Regions from separate parts of the Homo sapiens genome. Here all the other regions are linked to region 4. Evidence: promoter capture Hi-C in 16 types of primary human blood cells and fetal thymus (Javierre and others, 2016). All regions are on one chromosome and are shown on one strand. The core of a region is centred on a gene start or on the middle of the fragment in contact, and the rest is flanking DNA. Distances in the headings are between cores, read along the strand shown. Region 1 holds the start of KLK8 (kallikrein related peptidase 8). Region 2 has its middle 4.8 kb from the start of CTU1. Region 3 has its middle 8.1 kb from the start of SIGLEC9. Region 4 holds the start of SIGLEC14 (sialic acid binding Ig like lectin 14). Region 5 holds the start of KLK5 (kallikrein related peptidase 5). Region 6 holds the start of KLK13 (kallikrein related peptidase 13).

What was found. The method cuts DNA at HindIII sites, captures the fragments that hold promoters and counts their contacts. A CHiCAGO score of 5 or more calls a contact.
Region 1: the fragment with the promoter of KLK8 here is called in contact with the fragment with the promoter of SIGLEC14 in region 4 in 1 of 17 cell types (total CD4 T cells); the score reaches 5.3 in total CD4 T cells.
Region 2: a contact is called between a fragment that was not itself captured here and the fragment with the promoter of SIGLEC14 in region 4, in 1 of 17 cell types (neutrophils). The highest score is 10.3, in neutrophils.
Region 3: a fragment that was not itself captured here is called in contact with the fragment with the promoter of SIGLEC14 in region 4 in 1 of 17 cell types (neutrophils); the score reaches 7.7 in neutrophils.
Region 5: the fragment with the promoter of KLK5 here is called in contact with the fragment with the promoter of SIGLEC14 in region 4 in 6 of 17 cell types (naive CD8 T cells, erythroblasts, total CD8 T cells and 3 more); the score reaches 8.5 in naive CD8 T cells.
Region 6: the fragment with the promoter of KLK13 here is called in contact with the fragment with the promoter of SIGLEC14 in region 4 in 2 of 17 cell types (activated CD4 T cells and fetal thymus); the score reaches 5.2 in activated CD4 T cells.

The regions. Positions count from the first base shown.
Region 1 is chr19:50,999,496-51,003,345 of GRCh38, forward strand. KLK8 (kallikrein related peptidase 8) reads right to left here and starts at 2,109. Exons shown (of 6, transcript NM_007196.4): 1 at 2,037-2,109; 2 at 1,603-1,680; 3 at 929-1,088; 4 at 501-763. The coding sequence starts at 1,672. KLK9 (kallikrein related peptidase 9) reads right to left here. Exons shown (of 5, transcript NM_012315.2): 5 at 3,013-3,765. The coding sequence ends at 3,616. The HindIII fragment of the contact is 2,221 bases long and covers 425-2,645 here.
Region 2 is chr19:51,111,163-51,115,287 of GRCh38, forward strand. No RefSeq gene overlaps it. Among named protein-coding and RNA genes, the nearest start is that of CTU1, 4.8 kb to the left of the region's middle. The HindIII fragment of the contact is 1,951 bases long and covers 1,535-3,485 here.
Region 3 is chr19:51,131,045-51,134,912 of GRCh38, forward strand. It overlaps a transcript of SIGLEC9 not described here. Among named protein-coding and RNA genes, the nearest start is that of SIGLEC9, 8.1 kb to the left of the region's middle. The HindIII fragment of the contact is 2,262 bases long and covers 1,301-3,562 here.
Region 4 is chr19:51,643,935-51,648,074 of GRCh38, forward strand. SIGLEC14 (sialic acid binding Ig like lectin 14) reads right to left here and starts at 2,891. Exons shown (of 7, transcript NM_001098612.3): 1 at 2,789-2,891; 2 at 2,323-2,706; 3 at 1,848-2,126; 4 at 1,543-1,596; 5 at 1-102. The coding sequence starts at 2,825. The HindIII fragment of the contact is 8,795 bases long and covers 1-4,140 here.
Region 5 is chr19:50,950,384-50,954,297 of GRCh38, forward strand. It overlaps KLK5 (kallikrein related peptidase 5), which reads right to left and starts at 2,655. Exons shown (of 6, transcript NM_012427.5): 1 at 2,364-2,655; 2 at 2,202-2,285. The coding sequence starts at 2,274. The region is part of intron 1 of LOC105372442 (a long non-coding RNA gene); the gene reads left to right. The HindIII fragment of the contact is 21,591 bases long and covers 1-3,914 here.
Region 6 is chr19:51,062,130-51,066,402 of GRCh38, forward strand. KLK13 (kallikrein related peptidase 13) reads right to left here and starts at 2,963. Exons shown (of 5, transcript NM_015596.3): 1 at 2,887-2,963. The coding sequence starts at 2,938. The HindIII fragment of the contact is 5,030 bases long and covers 1-4,273 here.

The DNA.
Region 1 (3,850 bases), core at 859-3,358, 650 kb before region 4:
TTAAACCCAGGAGGCAGAGATTGTAGTGAGCTGAGATTGTGCCACTGCACTCCAGCCTGGGCGATTGAGTGAAACTGTGTCCCCCTGCAAAAAAAAAAAAAAAAAAAAAAAAAAAAAAAAAAAAAAAAAGGAGGGAGGTGGGGGAGAAGGTGCTTAGGAGCCTGTTTTCCTGGGCCTCTGAGAAGTCCAAATATCCCAAGTGTGTTAAGATTATATAAAATCCTATACAACCAAAGGTCCCATAGGGTAGTGCTCTCCGCCATACAGGATGGGCTTTTCTGGCCCTGCTTAACAATCTGCTAGTTGGTTCTTTCTCTCACCACTCTTGTTAGTAGTCAGATCTTCGAGGCTTCTCATATGACTCCTGCTTGTGAATCTCAACATCATGATCACTTTCCCTTCTTTGTCTCCCTCTGGGGGACCAAGCTTTGCCAATAGCTTGGGTTCCACTGGGCCAACCAGCTCCTCCTCTCCCTCCCATTAGTGGACAAGCCCACTACCTCGGGGACTGGTGACAGTGCCCCAGCCTGAGACGGTGCACTTCTGGCCAGGCTGGGTGCAATGATCTGCCAGGCTGATGGGCTTCACTTTGGACCCCAGGGATGCCTGGTCACGCAGTTGAAGAAGCATCAGATCATGGTTGTGGTCCTCCACATCGCTGCTGTTGTAGCAGGGGTGTGGGATGGACTGAACCACAGGTATTTCTTGCTCTGGGCCATCTTTATTCTGTAGGCTGTGGTCTCCCAGGCGTACTGTGTATTTCCTGTAATGGTGGGGATAGTTTGGGACCCAGGCAGGGGTATTGCCCCCAGCCCCCTCCTCCTTCAGACCCAGGAGTCCAGTCCTCAGCTCTCTCCTTCCTGAGTCGAAACCCCAGCCCCCTCTTTCCTTAAGCCCCAGCTGACCTCTGCCCCCATCATCCACTCACGGTTTTTTACAGTGGGCAGCTGTAAGGACCCAGTTGCCACCTACAAGGACACCGCCACAGAGTAGTTGCTGGCCCTGGAACAAGGCCGCCTGCCAAGGCTGCGAATGGGGTTGGCACTCATGACCCCCCAGCACCTTGTCCTCCTGTGCCCTGGAGTGTCCTGCAGCAGGAGGGAGAGGGTTGGATCGCCACCCTCTGGGGCAGTGCGAGGGCTGGGAAGGCCACTGTGGGTTCAAATGGACACACGGCAAGTTCTCCGCATACAACTTAGTGAGGAGGTCCAGGCTTCCACACGCTGCCACACGGGGACACTCATTTCAGTCCATGTGTCATCATACAAGAGTCACACACCCAAGAATGCCCCCACATGCTTCCACATGAGTCTACAGGCCCCGAGTACTCCCAGGTGAATCTATGCCCCCAAGCAAGCAGCCCCCAAAGGCTGTAGCTATTCAGACAATTTACAGCATCACGGAACCTACTCCTACCTGCTGCTACCTGTTTCTTGCCTCTGTCCACCCTGAGGAAAGCCCACAGAGGCTCCTGCACCGTATCGCACTCTTCACATCCGTGCACACGCACCCACATAACCCCCGCGGCATTCCCACAGACTCCCCAGCGCCACTGCTGCCTTCAGATCCCTCCCCTCCGGAGGCCTCCGCAACCCTCCTCACCTGCCCAGGCTCCCCCCAGCAAGAGCAGGAACATCCACGTCTTGGCCGCACGAGGTCGGGGGCGTCCCATGGTGAGGTCTGGGAAATGGAGAGGGCGGGGCCGGTAAACAGGAAGGAGGAGCCTGAGCTCCCAGTTCTGGATTTGGGCACTGGGGAGGCAGCCGAGAGTATCTGGGGCTGTTCTGGGCTTCTCTGGAGGAAGGAGGAGGCTGGGGGACTGGATTCCTACATTCCAAGGGAGGGGGGAGTCCTCGATGTCTGGGTCTGAGGGGACAGGGAGCTGGGAGCTGGGACTCCTAAATTAGGGAGAGGAGGAAGCCGGGGTCCAGACTGCTGGATCTCGACAGAGAAGGGCATCTGAGGCTGGGGTCCTGGAATCTGGAGAAGGAGGGTCCGGGGCCTGATGTCTGTATCTGAGTACCTCTGCACCTCACCTTCCAGAATCCAGGGGCGGGGTCACCTACTGATTCGGACCCAGTGGAGGAGGCCCCAGTACTTCAGTTCTCTGCCTGGTACACGATTCTGGAGCCTTTTAACTGGGAATCTCCACCTCCTGCTCCTCCTCCTTCTCCTCCTGCACTAGAGCCTGGGGAGCTTCTGGGAACTGGAACACTGGGTGTGAGTGAGAAGGGGCGGAGGGGATTGAACGTGAAATCTTGAGGGAGGAGGGGCTGGAATCTCAGACTCCTGAGGCTAGGGAGAGGAGGGACTCGGTGCTGAGACTCTACGATCTGAAACATAAAGGGCTGGGGGCCAAGATTTTAGTTCTGAGAGGGGAGGAGGCTGGGGGCCTGGATTCCTGGGTCTGAGGGAGGAGAGGCTGGGGGCCTGGACTCCTAAATCTAAGGGAGGAGGGACTGGGACCTGGGATTTAGGTCTGACCGAGGAGGGGCTGGGGGCCCAGACTCCTGGGTCTGAGGGAGGAGGGGGCTGCTAGGGGCCAGGACTCCTGGGTCTGAGGGAGGAGGGGCTAGGGGCCTGGATTCCTGGGTGTGAGGGAGGAGAGAGCTGGGGGCTGAATTCTAAGTACTTTTAAAAGGAGAAGCTTGGAACCTGATCTTTTGTGGGAGGAGGGGGCTGCTGCCAGTAACCGGGAACCGAAGAAAGGCAGGTCTTCTAGGGTCAGAAACCAGAGGGTGGATCAGGCCCCGCCCGCTGTCCCCTGAGAGGTCCGGGATCTGGGAGGGCAGGTTTGGGAGGCACTGTGACCTGGTTTCCCCTTCCCCTGGAGGCGGCAAGACCAACCCAAGCAGAACCCAGGAGTCTTGCTGCAATAGGGCTGATGGACAGAGACTTTAGGCAAAACTTACTAGGGGTTTAAGGGGGAGTTGCAAGGCGGTACCGGTTCCCTCATCTGCCCTTCACCGCCCACCCGTTTGCTCTCCACTCATCTCACAGCTCAGGCAGAAAGAAGGTGAGGTTTCCCGCGTTTACTGAAAAATCATCCGTTGCATTGGCTCTAAAGGTATCCAGACCCTCCCTCAATTTCCCCCCAGGTCTCCGCCAGGATTCAAACCCAGCACACGCCCAGGACGGGGCCACAAGGGGCTGAGCTCTACACCGCCCGAGCTCCACGTGGGCGGAGCTACTGCGCCCCTGACATCACGAGGGGCGAGATCTCTGGTGAAGGAGGCGGGGCCACAAGGGGTGGAGTCCCGAGGGGAAGTCCCACTGGGCAAAGTTCCGAGGGGCGGAGCTATTTTGTGTAAGTGGTTCCTTGGGGCGGAGCCACAGGCTGTGCTGTTCCAAGAAGGAGGTGATGGCTGTCGGTGACGTCATAGAGACGGGCTCTGAAGGGCGTGTCCCTGCTCCGTTCCGAGGGGGCGCGACTGTGTCTTGCTTGACCTCGTGAGGGGGCGGAGCCTCAGGGGCGGAGTCTTAGTGTCCAGAGGGGAGTCAGGGCAGCTGGAGGTCCAGGGCGGGAACCATTGAGGCTGGGACCCTACGAGAACCCCCTACCCCGTGCCCTTCGGCCTCTCTTGGTCTTCCAAGGTGCCCCCGTGGCGCGCGGGCTCAGTTCTCCATGATTTCTTGGATCCAGTCAAGGTAGTGGCATACGCTGGTGTAGACTGCGGGGCGCCGGGGTCTGGAGCAGGGCTCAGCACCCCCAGACACCACGCCTGCCAAGGTTCCATTGCAAACCAGGGGGCCCCCAGAGTCACCCTGTACGCGAGAGAAGGGCAGAGGAACTGTTAGGCCACTCTGTTCATGACAATTACACGGGCCACTTCCTCCCTCCCAGAAAGGC
Region 2 (4,125 bases), core at 1,260-3,759, 530 kb before region 4:
TTATGTTATCTAATCAGGTTATGCACTTAAATGCTATAAAATGGAAACAGTGCATAGACTCTACAGTGAAGTCTCCCTGTCGTCTCCCCCCACCCACCCACTGTCTAGTTCTCCTCCTCAGAGGCAGCCTCTGTCCTGCAACAATGTGGGAGTGCATGCTGAATCGGGGTGTATAGAGTTTCCCCATTCTCCTCTGTGGGACCAGGATAAGAGTGGGATATTTGGGGCTCCAGAGATAGATGGGAAAAGAGGTGAGGTCAGCCATGAGAAGCCCTCTCACTCCCAGCCCTCTGCTGTCTGGTTTCTTTCCTGTCTCCCCTAACACAGTCTCCCGATCAACACCAGTGGCCTCTTTATTGACAAATAAAGGTCTAACCTGGGCTCTACCTACTTCTGAGTCTCTTTGCCCTGACCACAAAATCTACCCTCCCTGGTCCTCTTTCTGGCCAAACCATGTCAATCAACTTGCCAGGAGCCTTGTACTCCACAGCGCTGTCATTTCTCTGCAAACTCCCCAGGTGAGCTCATCCACTCCTGCCACTCCCGCAACTTCCGTCTCTGCCCTGATGCCTCCCCACTTTCCTGCATATCTCCACTGCATCCCGAGACTCGGACCTGCACAGTTAGCCCCTGGTGGTGGCACTGGCATGCTTCAGCCTCTAGGTGAGGATCCTGAATCACTTCGCTGACTCTTTTTCTCACCCACTGCTCCCCATTGTTCAGTGAAACTTGCCAGTTTTGCTTCTTGAAAGTTTCTCAGACCATTCCCTTCATCCTTGTGGCCCTGCCTTGGCTCAGCTCATCCTTTTTTTTAAATTATTCATTTATTTATTTATTTTTTTTGAGATGGAGTCTCACTCTGTCACCACAGCTGGAGTGCAGTGGCATGATCTCAGCTCATTGCAATCTTCGCCTTCCAGCTTCAAGCAATTCTCGTGCTTCAGCCTCCGGAGTAGCTGGGATTACAGGTGTCTACCACCATGCCCAACTAATTTTTTTATTTTTAGTAGAGACACAGTTTCACTGTGTTAGCCAGGCTGGTCTTGAACTCCTGACCTCAAGTGATCTGCCTACCTCGGCCTCCCAAAGTCCCAGGATTACAGATGTGAGCCACTGCGCCGGCCGTTTCTTGCCTGGACTCTCTCACCCCAACCTCTAATCCCTTCATTCCTGAATCCTCCCACACTAGCCCCAGATTTAACCTTGTCTCTCCCCTTCTCGAAACTCTTCCATGGCTCCCCATTGCCATCAGGCTTTCCATTGTCAAACCTCTGCAGACTGCAACGGAGGTGCTGCATGATCTGGTCCCTGCACACCCTTCCAGCCTCAGAATGCCTTGCCATCTCCAGGTCATCTAGCTGCCATCCTAAGCAATCCGCGTCTGGTGGAAGATATGGTGGCTGGGCTCAGCTGTCTCTCTCCAGCTCTGGGAGCTTTGGTTCCTGCAGCATCAATGTGCATCTCTGAGGGCCATTTCCTATATCTGGTGCTTGTTACTGGCAGCACTTGCTTCCCCACCCCTCGAAGGGCTAGAAGCTTCCCTGGGTAGAATTTCTGCATGAAGAGAGTTCGTTCACCCGTGGAGCCTACTGAGGAACGGGATTTTTGTCTGTGGTTGGTTGGTTTGTCTGTTTTCATTGTAGTGTATCAAACAGTCCTTATTTTGCCCTAAGTCCAGCTCTGTCCCACTGCCTTCTTGTTAGTTTTTGCATCTCCTTACTAAATGGTAGGTCTGCCTGGGTTCCCACAGCAGTGCTAATAAACTTTGTTGGCCAGAGGAGGCACCAGGAAAGACTCTCTGTTGGCAACACTCTCTGAAGGGCCCTCTGTTTCTCTTTGGCCTTGTCTCTCGTTCTCCTCATCCCAGGAGCCTTTTATGTGAGTTTCCACAGCTCCTCCTCGCACCCTCTCTTCTCTCTGCACTTCTCGTGGCTCCCCCCGATGTCTTGCACACCATGCTGTTCATCCCAATCTGCTCTGAGCCCCAGACAACCACATTTCCCCCCTTCTCAGTGATGGAACCATCATCATTATCCAAATTAGGATTCTAGGAGTCAGATAGATATTTCTCTATCACCTACCATATCCTGTTTGCAAGATGTCTTGCAAACTTCCCTTCCTGGAATAGGCTCACTTCACTCCCCCTTCAACATCCCCATGGCCTCTGCTCCTAGTCATTTCATCCTCTTCCTCTTCTGCTCAGACCTCCACTCTGTTTTCCTCTCCAACTTCTTGGCCTCCACTCTCCTCCTCTCCCTAAAGTCTCCCTCACATCACCCCAGAGGGATACCTTCTCCCACCAAGAGCTGACTCTGCCCCTCCCCCTTGCTCTTAATCCTTCCATGGCTCCCCAGTGCCCTCAATATAAAGTCAAGACTTTTTTTGATATGTAAGCCTGCAAGATACGGCTTGCAACTATTCTTCCAGAGTCATCATGCCTTGATACCTACCTCTGGGGTCATTTAGCTGACTACCTGCCCCACATTTGGACGTCTCTGAACATTTGTCACCTGGTAGCCCAATCCTTAAGAGGGGAGAAACAGGCCTGCCAGTCTTGCCCTTCCCCTTTATCTGTTTGTGCTCAGCTCTGGGGCCCTGGAAAATGCTCCTCACTCCTCATTCCCAGGGCAAGTCTCCATCTAACATGTAGTAATAGGTGAAGACATTTTTGTCTATTTTGTTCAACAAGAATCATACCTGACATATAATAAACTCTCAATATATGTATTCAAAAATTAAAAAATAAAGCTGTTACTTGTGAAATCTCTGCCTGTAGCCCAGGTCTTTGTTCTGACCCCAGCACCCTCCTAATGGCCCCGTTGTCTGTGAAGGCATTTTCAATGCTCTCCACTGTGCTAGATGGTGAGCCCATAGGGACAGAAATTGGGTTTGTTCTGACTCCTAGAGTGACTTGGTAAATATTGTTGATATAGGATAAGGCTCAGAGAAACCTCTGTCTCAGTTTGATAGGACCCCGAGAAACAAAACTGGCAAGTTGGAGAATCTAGCTCCTTTACAGCCAGCAGCAAGTGAGGCTACTCTTTGTCCTGGAGGGAGACATTACCCCATCCCTCAGGGTGGCTCCCTGCAAACACAACCTGAGAACTAGGCCAGGTAACGAGATCTCAGACCATCATGTTTTGGGCAATACCCAACGAGATGTGTAGGAGGACGGGAGGCTCATGGAGATCTGTCCTTCCCAACAGGCTGCCCTACTCTTCTTAGATGATGTGGGAAACTGCAAAATCCTCTCATCAAATTCTCTTTTACCAGCATACACAAAGATTCCATCACTTGTGATCGACGTCTTAGTCAGTAAGTCTGGACCATTTTGACTGGTTTCCAGTCAGAAAACCAGGAGGATGTGGTGAACAGAGAAACCCCAGTACTCACATTTCACTATTCTTTGCTTTCTCTCTTCATGCTTTGTTTGAAGAAGTTGCAAAATGAGATGACTGGAAGAAAGGGACATGATAGCTAAATAAAGCTTCCTTTTCTTGGTCAGGCACTATAAATCTATTGCACTTTCTCCTGTCTAACAGAAGTCAAACTTTTCTTTTTTTTGAGATGGAGTTTCACTCTTGTTGCCCAGGCTGGAGTGCAATGGTACCATCTCAGCTCACTGCAACCTCTGCCTCCTGGGTTCAAGCGATTCTCCTGCCTCAGCCTCCTGAGTAGCTGGGATTACAGGCGCCCGCCACCACACCCAGCTGATTTTTGTATTTTTAATAGAGACGGGGTTTTACCATGTTGGCCAGGCTAGTCTCGAACTCCTGACCTCAGGTGATCCGCCTGGCTTGCCCTCTCAAAGTGCTAGGATTACAGGCATGAGCCACAACACCTGACCTTACTATTGTAAGTATTAGTTCTAAAAACTGGCGGCCCCTCCTCTGAGTCCCTGTCACTCCAGTTCTCAATCTCTCTCCATATGGCTCAATGCTCTCCTGGAATCATTGTCCCTTCAGGTCCCCATTAGGATCTTCAGTCTTAGGCCCATTTTTTCCCCCTATAGTTTTTCCTATAGTCTCATTATCCTTAAGTGAACAGGAACAACAGGACATCCAGCAGAGTCCCTGAGGATGAACTGGGAAGCAGAGAGGAAGAACATAAGAGAAGCTCGGCCTA
Region 3 (3,868 bases), core at 1,182-3,681, 510 kb before region 4:
ACCCAGGGAATGAGAAACGTTTCCAAAGGGGCACAGGATCATCTGGCAAATTAAACAACATGATCCAAAAAAATTTACCTACATGCAGCACCCGAACGAGGAAAGGGACATCTCACAACAATCACTTTATGCAGTAGCCCTGATAGGAAGAAATCAAAGGACTGGAGGAAGCACTAAAACTTCCCTAAATCTAGACTCTTGCCCATTTACGGCAGCATCAAAAAACCGTAAAGTACCAAGGAACAATTTTTTAAAAATCATGGCCGGGCACAGTGTCTCACGCCTGTAATTCCAGCACTTTGGGAGGCCGAGGTGGGCAGATCACGAGGTCAGGAGATCGAGACCATCCTGGCTAACATGGTGAAACCCTGTCTCTACTAAAAATACAAAAATTAGCCGGGCGTGGTGGCGGGTGCCTGTAGTCCCAGCTACTCGGGAGGCTGAGGCAGGAGAATGGCGTGAACCCGGGTGGTGGAGCTTGCAGTGAGCTGAGATCGTGCCACTGCACTCCAGCCTGGGAGACAGAGCGAGACTCCGTCTCAAAAAAAATAAATAAATAAATAAATAAATAAGTAAAAAATCATATCCGAGCTGGGCGTGGTGGCTCACGCCTGTCATCCCAACACTTTGGGAGGCTGAGGAGGGCAAATCACTTCAGGTCAGGGGTTCAAGACCAGCCTGGCCAACATGGTGAAACCCCATGTCTACTAAAAATACAAAAATTAGCCAGGCGAGGTGGCGTATGCCTGTAGTCCTTGCTACTTGGGAGGCTGAGGCAGGAGAATTGCTTGAACCCGGGAGGCGGAGGTTGCAGTGAGCTGAGATTGTGCCATTGCACTCTAGCCTGGGCGACAGAGCAAGAGTCTGTGTCAAAAAAAAAAAAAAAAAATCCTATGCTATGGTTTGGATATGGTTTGTTTGGCCCTGCCAAGCCTCCTGTTGATATTTGATGCCCAGTGTTGGCGGTGGGGCCAAATGGGAGGTGTTCAGGTCCCGGGATTGGATCCCTCATGAATGGCTTGGTGCTGTCTTCAAGGTAATGAGAGAGTTCTCACTCTGTTACTTCCTGTGAGAGTTTCTCCAAGAGCTGGGTGTTAAAAAGACATTGGCACCTCCCCTCCCCAGCCCGTGCTTCCTCTCTTGCCGTATTGTCTGCACATGCAGACTTCCTTTTGCCTTCCACCATGAGTGGAAGCTTCCTGAGACCCTCACCAGAAGCAAAGGCTGGTGCCAAGCATTTTCTATGTGGTGCAGAACTGTGAGCCAAATAAACTGTGGGGGGTGCACGGCAACATATTCAAGCTTATGTACAAGGCATTTGAGGTCGAGGCATGGAAAAATACTGAGGCACCGTGTGCGTGTTGTTTGTGCATGAGATTGAAACTCCTTGACCCTGAAAACAGGGCAAGGAACGGAATGTGTGATAAGGAGCGCGGAAAGCAGCCTCCTGAGACTGTAGTCTGAGTGTTTTTACCAGGCCATATGTGTCTCATGACCCGACCGCAAAAGGCCATCTGGTGGACATTTTGGTTTAACAAACCCTTTCGAGAAACACTTGGCGGACGGATTCTGGGGCGGCACTCTTTCAGAGATGCTGCTGCCGCCGCATCCCGCTCAGCTGGAATTGTCTGAGTGCTTCATTCTTGGCGTTCACTGCAGCTACAAGCTGTATAAACCTCTTTTCTTTATAAATTACCCAGCCTCAGATATTACTCTATAGCAACACAAATGAACTAAGATAACACGGAATGCTTCTGTACTGATGAATATAGAACATTTTTGAGAGACTTAAGGAAGGCCCAAATGAAGGAAGAAATATATCACGTTCATGGATTAGAAGGCAAAAATGGTTAAAATGTCAGTTGTCTGCATATTGATTTAGGTAATCCCTGTCAAAATTCCTATATATATATAAAATATATGTATATGTGTATATGTATGTACATAAGTATAGATGAGTGTATATGTATGTATATTGTAAATATAAGTTTATATATATACATATATAGTTATAAATTGATAAGTTGGTTCTGAAATTTATATAAACACATAAAAACCTAGAATAACCAAATCATTGTGATAAGAAACACATTTAGAGAAGGCAGACTTTAACACTAGAGTAATACAGAGAGTGTGGTGTGGACTAGAGTACAGTCTACAAATGGACCCACACATATACAGTCAACTGAATAGCATCAAGTCTATTCAATTGGGACAGGAAAGACTTTTAATAAATGTTGGTAGGTGGTCGGGCGCGGTGGCTCACACCTGTAATCCCAGCACTTTGGGAGGCTGAGGTGGGTGGATCACTTGAGGTCAGGAGTTCAAGACCAGCCTGGATAACATGGTGAAACACCATCTCTACCAAAAATACAAAAAAAAAAAAAAAAAATTAGCTGGGTGTGGTGGCAGGCAACTGTAATCCCAGGTACTAGGGAGGCTGAAGCAGAATTGCTTGAACCCAGGAGGCAGAGGTTGCAGTGAGCCAAGATTGTGCCACTGTACTCCAGCCTGGCGACAGAGTGAGACCCCATCTTGAAAATAAATAAATAAATAAAAAATAAATGTTAGCGGAACAAGTGAAATTAGGGTTGGTAAAAACGAGTGTTGAGCTGTTTCTCACATCACACGCAAAAAATTAGCCTGAAGCGAATCATAAACCTAAAAGTAAAAGCGGAGACTATAATGTTTGTACAACTGTGCTGTTTGATATGGTAACCACTAGCCACATGTGGCTACTGAGCACTTGAAATGTCCTACATTTAGTGAGAAAATAATATAAAAATCTAAGTAATTAATATTTAAAATTGATTACATGTTTCCATGTAACGGCATAATACTCATCAATATATAATAACAATATATAATACATGCAATAGCTTGAATAAATTTTGAAAACATCTTGAGTCAAAGAAGCCAGATGCAAAAGAATACATGCTCTGTAGTTTCACTTATATGAAGTTCAAGAACAGGCCAAACTAATCTACAAAGACAGAAATTCATAACAGTGACTGCCTCAGGTTGGGAGTGGGATTTGGGGATTAACGTGAATGGCACACAGGGGAACTTTCTGGGGTCCTGGGAATTTTATTTCTTTCTTTTCTTTTTTTTTTTTTTTTTTTTTTTTTTTGAGAAGGAGTCTAGCTCTGTTGCCGGGCTGGAGTGCAGTGGCTCACTGCAACCTCCGCCTCCAGGGTTCAAGCGATTCTCCTGCCTCAGCCTCCTGAGTAGCTGGGATTACAGGCACGGGCCACCATGCCCAGCTAATTTTTGTATTTTTAATAGAGATGACCACCATGTTGGCCAAGACCACCATGTTGGCCAGGATGGTCTTGATCTCTTGACCCTGTGATCCAACCACCTCTGCATCCCAAAGTGCTGGGATTACAGGCGTGAGCCACTGCGCCCAGCCAGTCCTAGGAATAGTCTATGTCTTAACTGGGATAGTAATTATGTGGTTATGAATCAAAACACATTGAATCACGCAAATAAAATCTATGTATTTTACTGTATGTAAATTTACCTTTCATGAAAGAGAAATTAAAAACTCTTAAATGATGAAAGCTTTTGGTTCCCTCTTTTTTATTAGACTAGCTAGTGATCTATCAATCTTATTTGTTCTTTCAAAGAACCAACTTTGGGGTATACTGATCTTTTGTAGGAATTTTCGTATCTCAATTTTATTCATTTCAGCTCTGATTTTGGTTATTTGTTTTATTCTGCTAGCTTTGGGGTTGACTTGCTCTTGTTTTTCTAATTCCTCTAGGTGTAATGTTAAGTTGCTAATTTGGGATCTTTCTAACTTTTTGATATGGGTATTCTGGTACATTGCATCTTTACTTTCCTGGATGCTAGGACCAAACTGGAC
Region 4 (4,140 bases), core at 1,641-4,140:
AGCTCAGTGAGGCAGGGGGGTTGCTGTCAACTGTGCAGGCGAGGAACAGGGACTGGCCCTCCTGGATGGGCACCGACATGCCATTGCTCAGGATCCGCAGGGCTGGGAAAGAGAAGCACAGCCAGGTGAGTGGAGCTGGGAGGCCCAATTCTCCCTCATTCCTCCCACTGAGCTGCAAGAAGAAAGACAAGACTGTGTGGTGAGTGCTGAGAATGGGCTAGTCATGGGTGAAAGGATGAGGACTTGGTGATCAGGTCAGGCTACCAGAAAGAAGGTGGCTGAGCTGAGAAAAGACAGATGAGGAGGAGTTCTCACATTAAGGAGAAGTGGATGGGCAGCTCAGGTGCAGACGTGCCAAGAACTGAGACAGGCAGACGAGGAAAGAGGCTCCTAGATCCGCAACCTGTCAGGGAGGACCCAGAGCTCCCAAGACACGATAATGGAGGTAGAAGCAGGCTCAGATCTTTTGGAGCATTGGGTGCCAGATTGAGGGCCTTGGGCTTTATCCTGGAAAGCAAGAGGGGGCTATAAGCAAGGGAAACAGAGTTAGCACTGGATCTAGAAAGATCCTGCTGGAGCCAAGTAGGTCCCGGACTGGAGAGAAGTGGGATAGGAGGCAGGGAGGCTGGGAGGAGGCTGGGGCAATGGGCCAGGGTTGAGCACGAGACTTGAGCTGGGCCTGGAACCAAGGGGATGAGGAGGGAAGTGATGATTGGTGAAGTAAAGGTGTTAAGACTTGCGGACTCATGAAACAGCTGATGAGAAAGGGTGCTGTCTACAGCGATGTCCAGAACAGCCCTGGGATCAACAGGGAAGGAGGAGCCGAGAAGCATCCGAGGGAGGTGGCTAAATGTGCAGATCTGTGCCTCAGAGAAAGGGCTGGATATAAAGTTGTGGGAGGCATCAGGACAGGGTCAAGGAGAGATCGGATTACTCAGGAATGTGGAGGGGAAGAACTGGGTTCTGGGACAGAGCTGTGGGAGGTGGGAAAGTCGAAGGCTCCCAAAAAGGACGATCAGTTAGAGATGAAGCAGGGCATGCATCAGAGGACATCGGAGCAGGCAGAAATTCAAGAAAAGGGAACAGCGTGTCCTGAGTACTCAAACTCACAGAGACAGAAAAGTAGAATGGTGACTGCTCGGTGGCAGGAGGGGGAAGTGGAAAGTCGCTGTTCAGTGGGTACAAAGTTTCAGTTTTGCCAGATAAAAGGAGCTCTGCAGTTTGGTTTTGCAACAATGTGAACACATTTAACACTGCTGAACTGTACTCTTTAAAATGGCTAAGATGACAAATTTTGTGCTATGTGTATTTTCTCACAATGAAAAAATAAATCTGAAAAAGAGAGCAGAGAAAAGGGAGAAGCCAAAAGAAATACTAGGTCTGTTCGTGCAAGATCTTAGTGACTGGGATTGGGGGGTTGGGAGCAGGAAGGACCCAGACCCAGGGGCTGAGGGGTGAGGGAGGGTCTCCTCTCCCAATGCTGAACCCTGAGCTAATAGAAGGCTCCCATCACAGCCCCAGAGGGAAGAGGGTCTTTCCTACCTGTGCCTGTGCCATTTCTGAAGAAGATGCTGATGGCGAGGTTCTGTGGAGCATCTGGGATAGAAAGATACAGCACCAGCTTCAGAGGTGACAAGAGGGATGGGCGTGGTCCCGGGAGGGACCCAAGGAGGGGCCACAGAAACCCACCAGGTGGGGACCGCTGTCCTTCCTGCCCACACACGAGTTTTCCCTGGTTATCATTCTCTTTCTCTCTCTCTCTTCTACACACACACACACACACACACACACACCCCCCTCACTCCCACTGCCCTTGGGGACTCAGCTGTGTCCCCAGCACCACTCACAGGAGACATTGAGCTGGACAGTTCTCTCCGTGGTCACCTGAGCTCCTTGGCGTTTCACCTGACAGGTGAGGTTGGTGCCATGGTCCTCGGGCCTGGGGGTGAGGGTGAGCTCCGAGGAGCGGGTGGTCTCGGGGTCCAGGGGGCTGAGGGCATTCCCCGTCCAGGAGAATGTGAGAGGTGGTCCCGCTTCACAGGATCCTGGAAGGCTGCAGCTCAGCCTTGTGGGGCGGCCGGACTCCAGAGGCTCCAGAAAGTGGATGTCGGGTTTCTCTATCAGGGCTGAGGAGGAGACAGGGAGATACCTGGGCCCCAGGGGCTTGAGGACGTAAGGTGTGACCCCGAGAGTGGCCAGGCCTCAGGCCCCGACCTGCCCCAAGTCCTACACCTCCTCCAGCCGCCCCTGCCCAACTCCTGTCCCTGTTCTCATACGGGGGTCTCCACGTCCCAGGGTCCTCTCCTAGGGTTCCTGCCATACCTGTCACCTCCAAGTTCAGCTTATTCTGTTGGTAGCTATATTTTACATCCCTTCCTCTCTCCACGCGGAAGAAATAGCTTCCCGTGTCCTCCATTCTGGCATCTCCGATGCTCAGGGAGCAGTTCTTCTTCTGGACATCCCCAAGGAGGCGGAATCGGCCCTGGGTCTCTGGCTTCACTCTTCTGTCTGGGTTGTTTGTGGCCACAACCTCAGCGTAGTATGGGATCTCCCCGTCCCGGAACCAGTAGACGTAGAGTGGGGGAGAGGAATACCAGGATCTCCAGGGGTAAGAGAAGGAGCAGGGCACAAGGACGCACAGGCCCTCCTGCACCGTCACCGACTTCTGCACTTGCAGCTCGTACACTGGCTTCTCCTGCAGGGACCCTGGGGGGACACAGAAGCTCAGCTGCAGCTCCAGCCCCCCTTCTCACCCCTGTGCCTGTCCCTCCTCCCTCAGCTCACTCACCCCCCCACAGCAGGGGCAGCAGCAGCAGGGGCAGCATGTCTCCATCCGCCAGGGCCCCAGCCCAGTCCCAGGTCCGGCTGTCAGGGAAGGAAATGCTCCAAATGTCCAAACGTGGGGTGGGGCTGAGAAAGCCCCGACAGGAAGCCGGAGGGTGAGTGAGAGCTGTGGACGCGCACAGAAGGGGAACTTGGGCATCACGTGCTGTTGGGGTGAGGCTGGGGCTGGGAAGCCATTCTGCTCCCACCCCCACTGGACGCCGATGGTGAAGATACTGAGGCCCCCAGAGGGGCTTGTCCAGACTTGTAAGTCTAGACTCCTGAGGTCACCAGGTCCCATAGCTGCAGCACTTTCCTTATGCACCTTTGTCTACATAGGAAGGAGAACACCACTTGGCCAGCTCCCTGGGAGTCAGGGCCTCGGGACCCTCAGCGAGATGGGAGAATAAATCCTTTATGACATGATAGGAGCTGTGGTGAGGGAAGCACACGCTGGGGGTTTCAGGTGGGGAAGACTTTCCTCTTTCCAGAGGGAAGGCAAGTTGTCAGGGACAAACACATCAGGTGGACATGACCGGGTCCTTAGCAGTCAAGAGAGATGTGGTCCCCACCACCAGTTGGATTTGGGAACCTCATCTCATCCTTGTCCTTGTCCCAGGCAGCGTCAGACCCCATCCCTGATGTTGACAGCCAGATGAGGCTTGAGAGCCGGGCATTTGAAATGTGAACGTTGAGGATATGGAATACCAAGTGTGAACCCAGACCCCTCACCTACCGGCTGTTGAACTTTACAAAAGTTACCTACCCTCTCTGTGCCTCAGTTTGCTCAGCTGAAAAATGCAGACAATAATAGAATTGCTGTGTGGGGATTCAGTGAGGTCTCATGTGTAAAGTGCTTAGGACAGTGTCTGGCCCCGAGAATTCACTCATTCAACTGATGCTTCATGGGCGCCTATGGTGCACCAGGCCCCCTGTTTTAGGAGCTGGAGATACAGCAAAGGATAAACTCTTAGGATGAGAAGGTAAGTCAAAAATCCTAGTGGGGGCTCCTCTGGGCACACTGCTTATGCATACCCCTGCTCCACGAAGAACAGTAAAAAAAGAAGGCCGGGCGCAGTGGCTCACGCCTGTAATCCCAGCACTTTGGGAGACCGAGGCGGGTGGATCACGAGGTCAGGAGATCAAGACCGTCCTGGCTAACATGGTGAAACCCCGTCTCTACTAAAAATACAAAAAATTAGCCGGGCGTGGTGGCGGGCGCCTGTAGTCCCAGCTACTGGGGGGGCTGAGGCAGGAGGACGGCGTAACCCGGGAGGTGGAGCTTGCAGTGAGCCGAGATCGCACCACTGCACTCCA
Region 5 (3,914 bases), core at 1,405-3,904, 690 kb before region 4:
TACAGGATTCCTGGACAAGCTCAGGGGTAGTGCCAAAGCTGTGGGGGCTGGAGCCTGGGGATGGGAGGGAGACCAGGGCTTTAGGGATGGAACTGGTCTCAAGAAGTGGGGTCAGGCCTCAGTGAGTGGGGTCAGGGCTGGAGGCAGGAAGGGGTTTGGAATTGACTTAGTTAGGGCCAGGGTCAGGGTTACATGTTAGAGTCTCCTATAAAGAGCTCTGACTTTGGGCTGGGGGCGGTGGCTCACGCCTGTAACCCCAGCACTCTGGGAGGCCGAGGTGGGCGGATCACCTGAGGTTGGGAGTTTGAGACCAGCCTGGCCAACAAGGTGAAACCCTGTCTCTACTAAAGACACAAAAATTAGCCAGGCGTGGTGGCGCGCACCTGTAATCCCAGCTACTCAGGAGGTGGAGGCACGAGAATCACTTGAACCTGGGAGGCAGAGGTTGCAGTGAGCCGAGATCACGCCACTGCACTCCAGCCTGGGAGAGAGAGCAAGACTGTCTCCAAAAAAAAAAAAAAAAAAGCTCTGACTTTGAAGGGGGTTCTAGAAGGTACCCACAGAATAGGGGGTGGAGCCTGGCCCAAAGGGGTGTGGCCTTAGGCGGGGTCCACTAGAGTCTGGCCTAGGGGCGTGGTTGAGGAAAGGAGGTGGGGTCAGAGCTCATGGGCGGAGCTAGGGTTCCGAAAGCAGGACCAGGAAAGAAGGGCTCAGCTTAGGGGGCCACATGGAGGGGAAGAGCAGGCCTAGGTTTCTGAATTCTCAGATGAAAACATGCCTTCTCAATCCTGTCAATCTCCTCCTCTCACACACAGACCTACAGACTACATGCATGCCCCACTCCATCATCAGTCCTCCCGTGCCCATTCACTGGTTCTTACCCTTTTTTTTTTCTTTTTTTCTTTCGAGACGGAGTTTCGCTCTTGTTGCCCAGGCTGGAGTGCAATGGCGCGATCTCGGCTCACCGCAACCTCCACCTCCCGGGTTCAAGCGATTTTTCTGCCCCAGTCTCCCGAGTAGCTGGGATTACAGGCACGCGCCACCACACCAGCTAATTTTTTGTATTTTTAGTAGAGACGGGGTTCTCCATGTTGGTCAGGCTGGCCTCGATCTCCCGACCTCAGGTGATCCGCCTGCCTCGGCCTCCCAAAGGGCTGGGATTACAGGCGTGAGCCACCGCGCCCGGCCTGGTTCTTACCCTTGCTGATGGCCCTGGCACCACCATCATTCACGAACTCACCCCAAGAACCACGCGCACAACAGCAGTAACAGCCAAGCACGCACGCAGTTCTGCAGACACGCCCATGTTGCCTCCACAGGTGCAGCTAACATACAGCTCTGTCTCCAGGTACACACGCTCCCGGGCAGCCTAGCGGGATCGCACACCCTCATCCACAGTGTCTCAGTGCCACGCACAGATGCCGTGTGTGCACAGATGTTCAGACTGCCACATACTCTTCTGCACACAGGCACACACTGCAAGTCAGTCACCTGGCACCCATCTCCCAGAGATAGCTACCCCTGCACCCTCTATCCCTCCAGGCAGAGACAGAAACTCCAGACACACAGCTGCACCATCACACATACAGTAGCATTTACACGGCCTCACACAGACACACACAGTCACATACAGTCACCCCTACACAGAGCTTCAGGTAGTCACACGGTCACAAATACGGGCATCCATAACGTCACACTCAGCCACAATCACATAATCGCCTGCAAGCAGCACACAGTCACAGCTTTCCATGGTGATGACCACTTTTGTTGCACGCAATCCCGGGACCTCAGGGACAGGAACTGCAGATACCTGCAGTCATATACAATGCCAAGTCACCACACACAGCCAAACACACAGTGAACACCCCCAGTGCTACATGCATTCACCCACACAGCTGTGGAGCCACACACAATCTTAAATGCACACACAATCACAAAACCACACACACAGCCTCAAAGGGTCAGTGCCACCTGCCGCACAGTCACCTGATATGGGAAAAGGCATCCCCCTCCCCGACACACACCGTGGCAGTCACAGGGCCACATACGATCGCACAACCACAAGTACAGACAGAGACTCACATTCACCCGGTCCCGGAGTCATGCCCAGGCTCACACAGTTCCCCAGGGGACAGGCGCTCTAGTGCCGCAGAGACAGTCCTCCCAATCCCACAACCCTCCCACCCCAGAGTTCTGGTTACCTGTGACCCCCAGAAGCAAGGCTGTGATCAGAGCACAGAGCACCCACATCCAGGGGGGTCTTGCTGTAGCCATGGCCGCTGCACCTGGATGGGGAATGTCAGAGGGTTGGGAGGCCCAGGCGATCCGGGGAGCCCTTAACCCACTTCCCCTCCCTCCCCTACCTTATTTCCCCAGGTAGAGAGGAACCACAAGGACGGGCCACCATCGGCACTGCGCTGAGACCCAGGCACTATAGAATTCAGAAGATAGGAGTCTAGCAGCCTCCAGACAGGGCAAGGAGGGGACAGAGAAAGATGTGGGTGCAGGACGCACAGACACCTCTCCTTCCCTGCCTGCTGAGCCACCCTCACCAGGTCTCACTTGCCCTGTCCCCCAGGTAGGGGGTGGGGGATTTGCTCCCAGCTCAGCCGCAGACTTCTCAGGCCTGTGCCTTCCTGGCCACTGCCTCCTCCTGGGCTCTGGGCACCGGGCCTGAGTTATAACCACCCACTGCTCCCTGGGGCACATTCCCGGGCAATGAGGTGCCTATCGGGCCTTAGCAATAGCTCCTCCTGCTCCCCCTATCTCCACCCCCAGAGCACCCCCCACCCAGTCCGGAATGTCACTCCCTACCTCCCTGGCCCGGAGAATGGGGAGGGGTCTCCGGAAGCCAGGCCAGCCCCTTCCCTGCCTCCCCCAGCCTTAAGGATCTGGCTTCTCACCAACTCTGGGTCACTATTCTTGGCGCCTGGATTGCTTGCTTTCTTCTCTGCATTTTGCTCATTCCACCACTGTCTGTTCACCCTCGATACTCCTCTTTCCATCTTTGTCTCTGGTTTTTTCTCAGAGTCTTCTTCCATCTCTCTGTGGTTCTCCCTCGGCTATCTTTCTGAGTCTCTCTCAATATCTCGTGTCTCTCTCCACCCCTCTCTCTCTTTCTATCCCTCTCGCCTCTCTGTCTCTCTGTCTCTGTCTCTCTCTCTCTGTCTTTTTCTCTGTCTGTCTCTCACTCACTCTCTCTCTCTCTCCTCCTGTCTGTCTTAGGAGCCTTGTTTTGTTCTCCTTGGGCCACAGGTGTTTCTGTCTCCCTGTTCCTCCCTGTCTTTCTATGCCTCTGTGATTCTTTCTTTTTTAAAGGTTCTGAATGATTTGTCAAATATACCTTAGAGTTCTTGGCCCATTTATTTTCCTTTATTTCACTTCTGCTCTATTTGTTGACAGCATTTTTTTTTTAGATATAACTAAGGTACAACAAACTGCTTGTTCGTTTGTTTATTTATTTATTTGAGACAGAGTCTTGCTCTGTCGCCCAGGCTGGAGGGCGGTGATGTGATCTCGGCCCACTGCAACCTCCGCCTCCAGGGTTCAAGTGACTCTCGTGCCTCAGCCTCCAGCATAGCTGGGATTACAGGTGTGCCCCACGACACCCGGCTGATTTTTTTTTTTTTTTTTTTTTTTTTAGTAAAGACAGAGTTTCACCATGTTGGCCAGGCTGGTCTCAAACTCCTGGCCTCAAGTGATTCACCCACCTCTGCCTCCCAAAGTGCTGGAATTACAGGCATGAGCCACGGTGCCTGGCCCAAACTGCATATTTAAAGGGTAGAGTCTGATGGCTTTAGGTACTTGTCACATCAGCATAGTCAAGAAGATGATCATGGCCGGGCGCGGTGGCTCACGCCTGTAATCCCAGCACTTTGGGAGGCCGAGGCGGGCGGATCACGAGGTCAGGAGAT
Region 6 (4,273 bases), core at 1,713-4,212, 580 kb before region 4:
CATATTTCAAATGTTCAATAGCCTGAAGGGGCTAGTGGATAATTGGACAGCACAGATATAGGATATTTCATATATACATATATGGAATATTCTACTGGATGACCCTCAGAATTTAGAGGTTGTATGTCTGGGTCCTTCTTAATTCTGAGAGGTCAGCTCAAATGTCTCCTCTTCAGAAAGGCCTTCCCTGACCACCTGGTCTAATGTTGACTCTCCTGGTCCCGACTCCTCCCCCATTACATTCTTCCAGTTGGTCTTCATCAGAACAATGATTGCTATTCATTTCTCTTCACATTTGTATGTATTCGTTTTTAAAAATCTCTCCACTTTGACTGTAAGCTCCATTGACAACAGGCACCTTAACTGCTTTATTCAGTACCATATTCCCAGGACCTAACACAGCGCCTGGCACACAATGGGGGCTCAATAAATAAATGCTGTGTGTGCCAGGCACTGTGTCTGGCATTGAAAGCACAGCAGGGGTCCGTGGGACAGGGAGAATCCAATCCTGAACATGCATGCCATTTTGTGACTGTGTGACCTTATGCAAATCACCAGCCTCAGTTTCCCCAGCTGTCAAGTAGAAAAAGTAATAGTTCATCTCTCATTGCGCAGTTGAAGAATTCAAGATGATCCTGCATTTCAAACCGTGCAGCACAGCAGGTGGCATGGAGAGCACTCAGTCAGTGGGAAATGTTATTATTAATTATTAGCTACAACAGGAGGTCCCTCTGCCTCCCTAGCTAGTTTCCCCAACTACAGGGCAAGCAGTTGGATTAGCTCAGTGGTTTGCAGTTAGGGACAGAAGTTGTCGGTGAGCACAGGATCATTTTAGATGGTAGAGAGATGAGATTTAAGTAACGTTAAATCGCACACTCAGACGCTGAACCAGCATCCAGTTCTCTTTTAAACCTGATTTTGTCAAGGATAAAGTCTCAGGATGGTGCTAATATGGTTTTAACACCTCCCTAATCCTCACTGAGCTCACTTTTCAAAGCCAGGAGGACACAGAAGCCTCATCAGGCCACCTAACATTTATTACACTGAACCATCTGCAAAAGTTGTTTTAGGAAGGTCAAAAAGGGTCAAGTATCAGCAATTTCAGGTGGTCCAACCCAATAAACATATTATTTTCTTTTCATTGTGCAGGATTTATTTCCTTCCTTACCTTCTATTTATGACAAAGAATTCTATTCTCTATTCAGGACAGTAATATAAAGTTGAACATGCTTTTGTTTGAGTGAAAAAAGAAGAAAAAAAGCTAACTTTAAGCAAATGATTAGGTCAAAAGTTATAAAAATGGTTTTCAGAGCCTCAAGTCCAGGATATGGACAGGGAAAACAACCTTGATTAGGATTCTGACTCAGGCATCGCCGGTGTCATTGGAGCAGGAGCCTTCTGTCTTTGAGTCCTAGGTTTCTCTGCCATGAAATTGGAGTAATTACAATGCACCTACCTCGCCAGGTTGTTGAGGACTCCACAAGGCGTAGCGTGTGGGTCTCCTAGCCTAGGGTGTGGCACTCAGGAGTGGCACGGGCATGAATCCAGGGAGTGTCGCCAGAGGAGAAAAGCCACCCCACCTTCAGGCCAAGGATGGTGCCAGGTGCCAGGCACCCACAGATCCCTCCTTTTTCAGGTCTTGGCTCAAGGGTCAAGCCCTTTGGGAAGGCCTCTGGTCGGGAAGCCGCCATTACATCTCTAGGCCCCTGGCTTGGCTCCTTGAAGTCTTCACCTCATGTCAAGATAATTATTAACTAATTATTTGGATAATTGTTTGAATAACATCTGCGTCTGTCCCCGCTAGACTCCAGGTGCTGAGAGCAGGGACTGTGTCTCTGCTTGTACAGCACCCAGCACAGTGGCCGGTGTTTAATAGCTGTTTGTTGAATGAATAAATGATTCATGAACGGGGTTTCCAGAGAACCTGCCTACAACGGCAGGGAAAGATGGGAAAGATCCATAAGGATCTTAAGGACTACCAATTTGGGGTGAGGTCACATAGGTTTGGGGTCAACCCAAGGATTAAAATAACAATCTAGAAGGTTCTGGAAGGGGCTGAGTATGAAGACAGAATACTAGAGGCCGGGCTCGGTGGCTCATGCCTGTAATCCTGGCACTTTGGGAGGCTGACGCGGGCTACTTGAAGTTAGAAGTTCGAGACCAGCCTAACCAACATGGCGAAACCCCGTCTCTGCTGAAAATACAAAAATTAGTTGGGCGTGGTGGCGGGCGCCTGTAATCCCAGCTACTCGGGAGGCTGAGGCAGGAGAATCGCTTCAACCCGGGAGGCGGAGGTTTCAGTAAGCCAAGATCGTGCCACTGCCTTCCAGCCTGGGAGACAGAGCAAGGTTCCATCTCAAAAAAAAAAAAAAAAAAAAAAAGGAATACTACTAATAAAGTAATAACGGCTAAGTGGCTAACTTTCAAGTCCCTTCTACCTGCGACATACTGAAGGCTCGACGCATTACCTCGTTTCAATATTCACAGTGACCTTCTCTGGTAAGCACTTATAGATTAAGCCCATTTTCCAGATGAAAACAATTTAGGCACAAAGCAGCTGCTAGGCTACTGGCTCAAAGCGGCAGCGTCAGGACGCGAACCCATGTCTTTCAGCTTTCCAGAGAGGACAGGAAGCCTTGAACGCGGGAGGGGCTGCTGCGAGGGTATTTTGGGAGGTGAAGGGTCTGGGGTCGGAGGGCCAACCTCAGCCGGGAAACCAGGTCACCCAGGGACAAGCAGGAAGAGCTCTGAGCTGTCCCCACTGGACCCGGCCCCGAGTGGGCGGGGGGCGGAGCTCGCGGCTCCCACGCCCCCTCCCCCTCCGGCCTGACCCCTCCTACCATTGTCCCGAATGGCCGCCGCGCCTCCACCCCCGCGCATTCTTACCTCCTGACAAGGCCAAGGTCAGGGAGGCGATCACTAGGGCCAGGGGCCACATGGCTCCGGGATCGGGAGGGGAGGGCAGGGCGGGCGGGGCCTGAGGAGAAGGTGAAGGGGGTGTTGAGGGCGTGCCCGGAACCTCCGCGTCTGAAACCTCTCTGCTCCTGAATGTCTCCTCGCCTCATTCACTCTTGACAGCCCTGACCCTGGAATCTGCCCCCCGCCTCCAATTCCATCCTTGGTGGGGGTGCAGTGGCGAGGTGGGAGGAACAGTGTGCAACCTCCTGGGGCTCCGGCGTGCAGCCCCTCACCCCAGGAAGCCGTCCCTCCTCCCCTGCCCTCTGGCGAGCTGGGTGGTCGGTGCACTCTCGCCCTTTTCCTCCAGAGTCTGCCTTCCATTCTACCCCTCTGGGTCTGTCCACACGCTTGGTATTAGCCCAAGTTCTTATCTGTCCGCGCCCTTCGCCTCTCTCCGTCTCTGCAGGTTTCTCTCTAGATCTGAGACTCTAGCTTCACTCTCCCTCTCCCTGACTCAGCTGCCCTTCTGCTTTCCCCATCCTTCCTATCCCCTCTTCTCTCCCCTCCCTGCCCTCCTCCGCTCCCCGCCCCCGCCCCAGGCAGACCCTACCTGAGTGAGGGGCCCACGAGGAGCGTCAGCCGCCAGCTGTCTAGAACTTCAGCCCCGAACCATGGCTTTTAACCCCTGAACTCCCTCCCCCAGCTCACTCAGCATTTCCTGGTCCCTGGCCTCCCCCTCTCCACCCCCAGTGGCTCAGCGGGATGTCTCCAGGCACCCCCGACCTGGGCTTGGCCCTCTGCTTGGGGCGGAGCTTCCAGGACGTGCTGGGACCTAGGTCTGACCCCGCCCAAGGCAGAGTTGAACCCACTGTGAACTTTCAGGCCTCAGGACCCAAAAAAGGGTAAGGGGAAAGCCCATTTCCTTCCCCCTACCCCGCTGAGTTCCATGCCCATCCCTAACTTCAACCCATTCTGCACCCAGTTTTCTAACCTCTTCTCCAACCCCATGCATAATTCTTAATAGGCAGTCAGCCCCCAGATGGCCGTGTTCTATCAGATTCCCACCTCCCTATCCATCCCTAACCATACCAAGTACTCCAGCCTGTTCCTCAACCCCAGTCCCATCTCCAACCTCATCTCAGGTTTAGCTCTCAACACATCCAGGTTCCAATTCCCAGTCTCATCTCAACCCTTTTTCTTTTGAAAGACACAAGGACACCCACAATTATCCCATCATCCTGCCTCCCTGCTCCCGCCAACCACCGGACACAAGAAGGAAATCATCAGCTGGGTGGATAGAAAATCAGCTCCCTCGGACTTGGATGGGGGCAGAGATGCGACCTGAGAAAGCAACATTTTCCAGAAATGGCCTTTT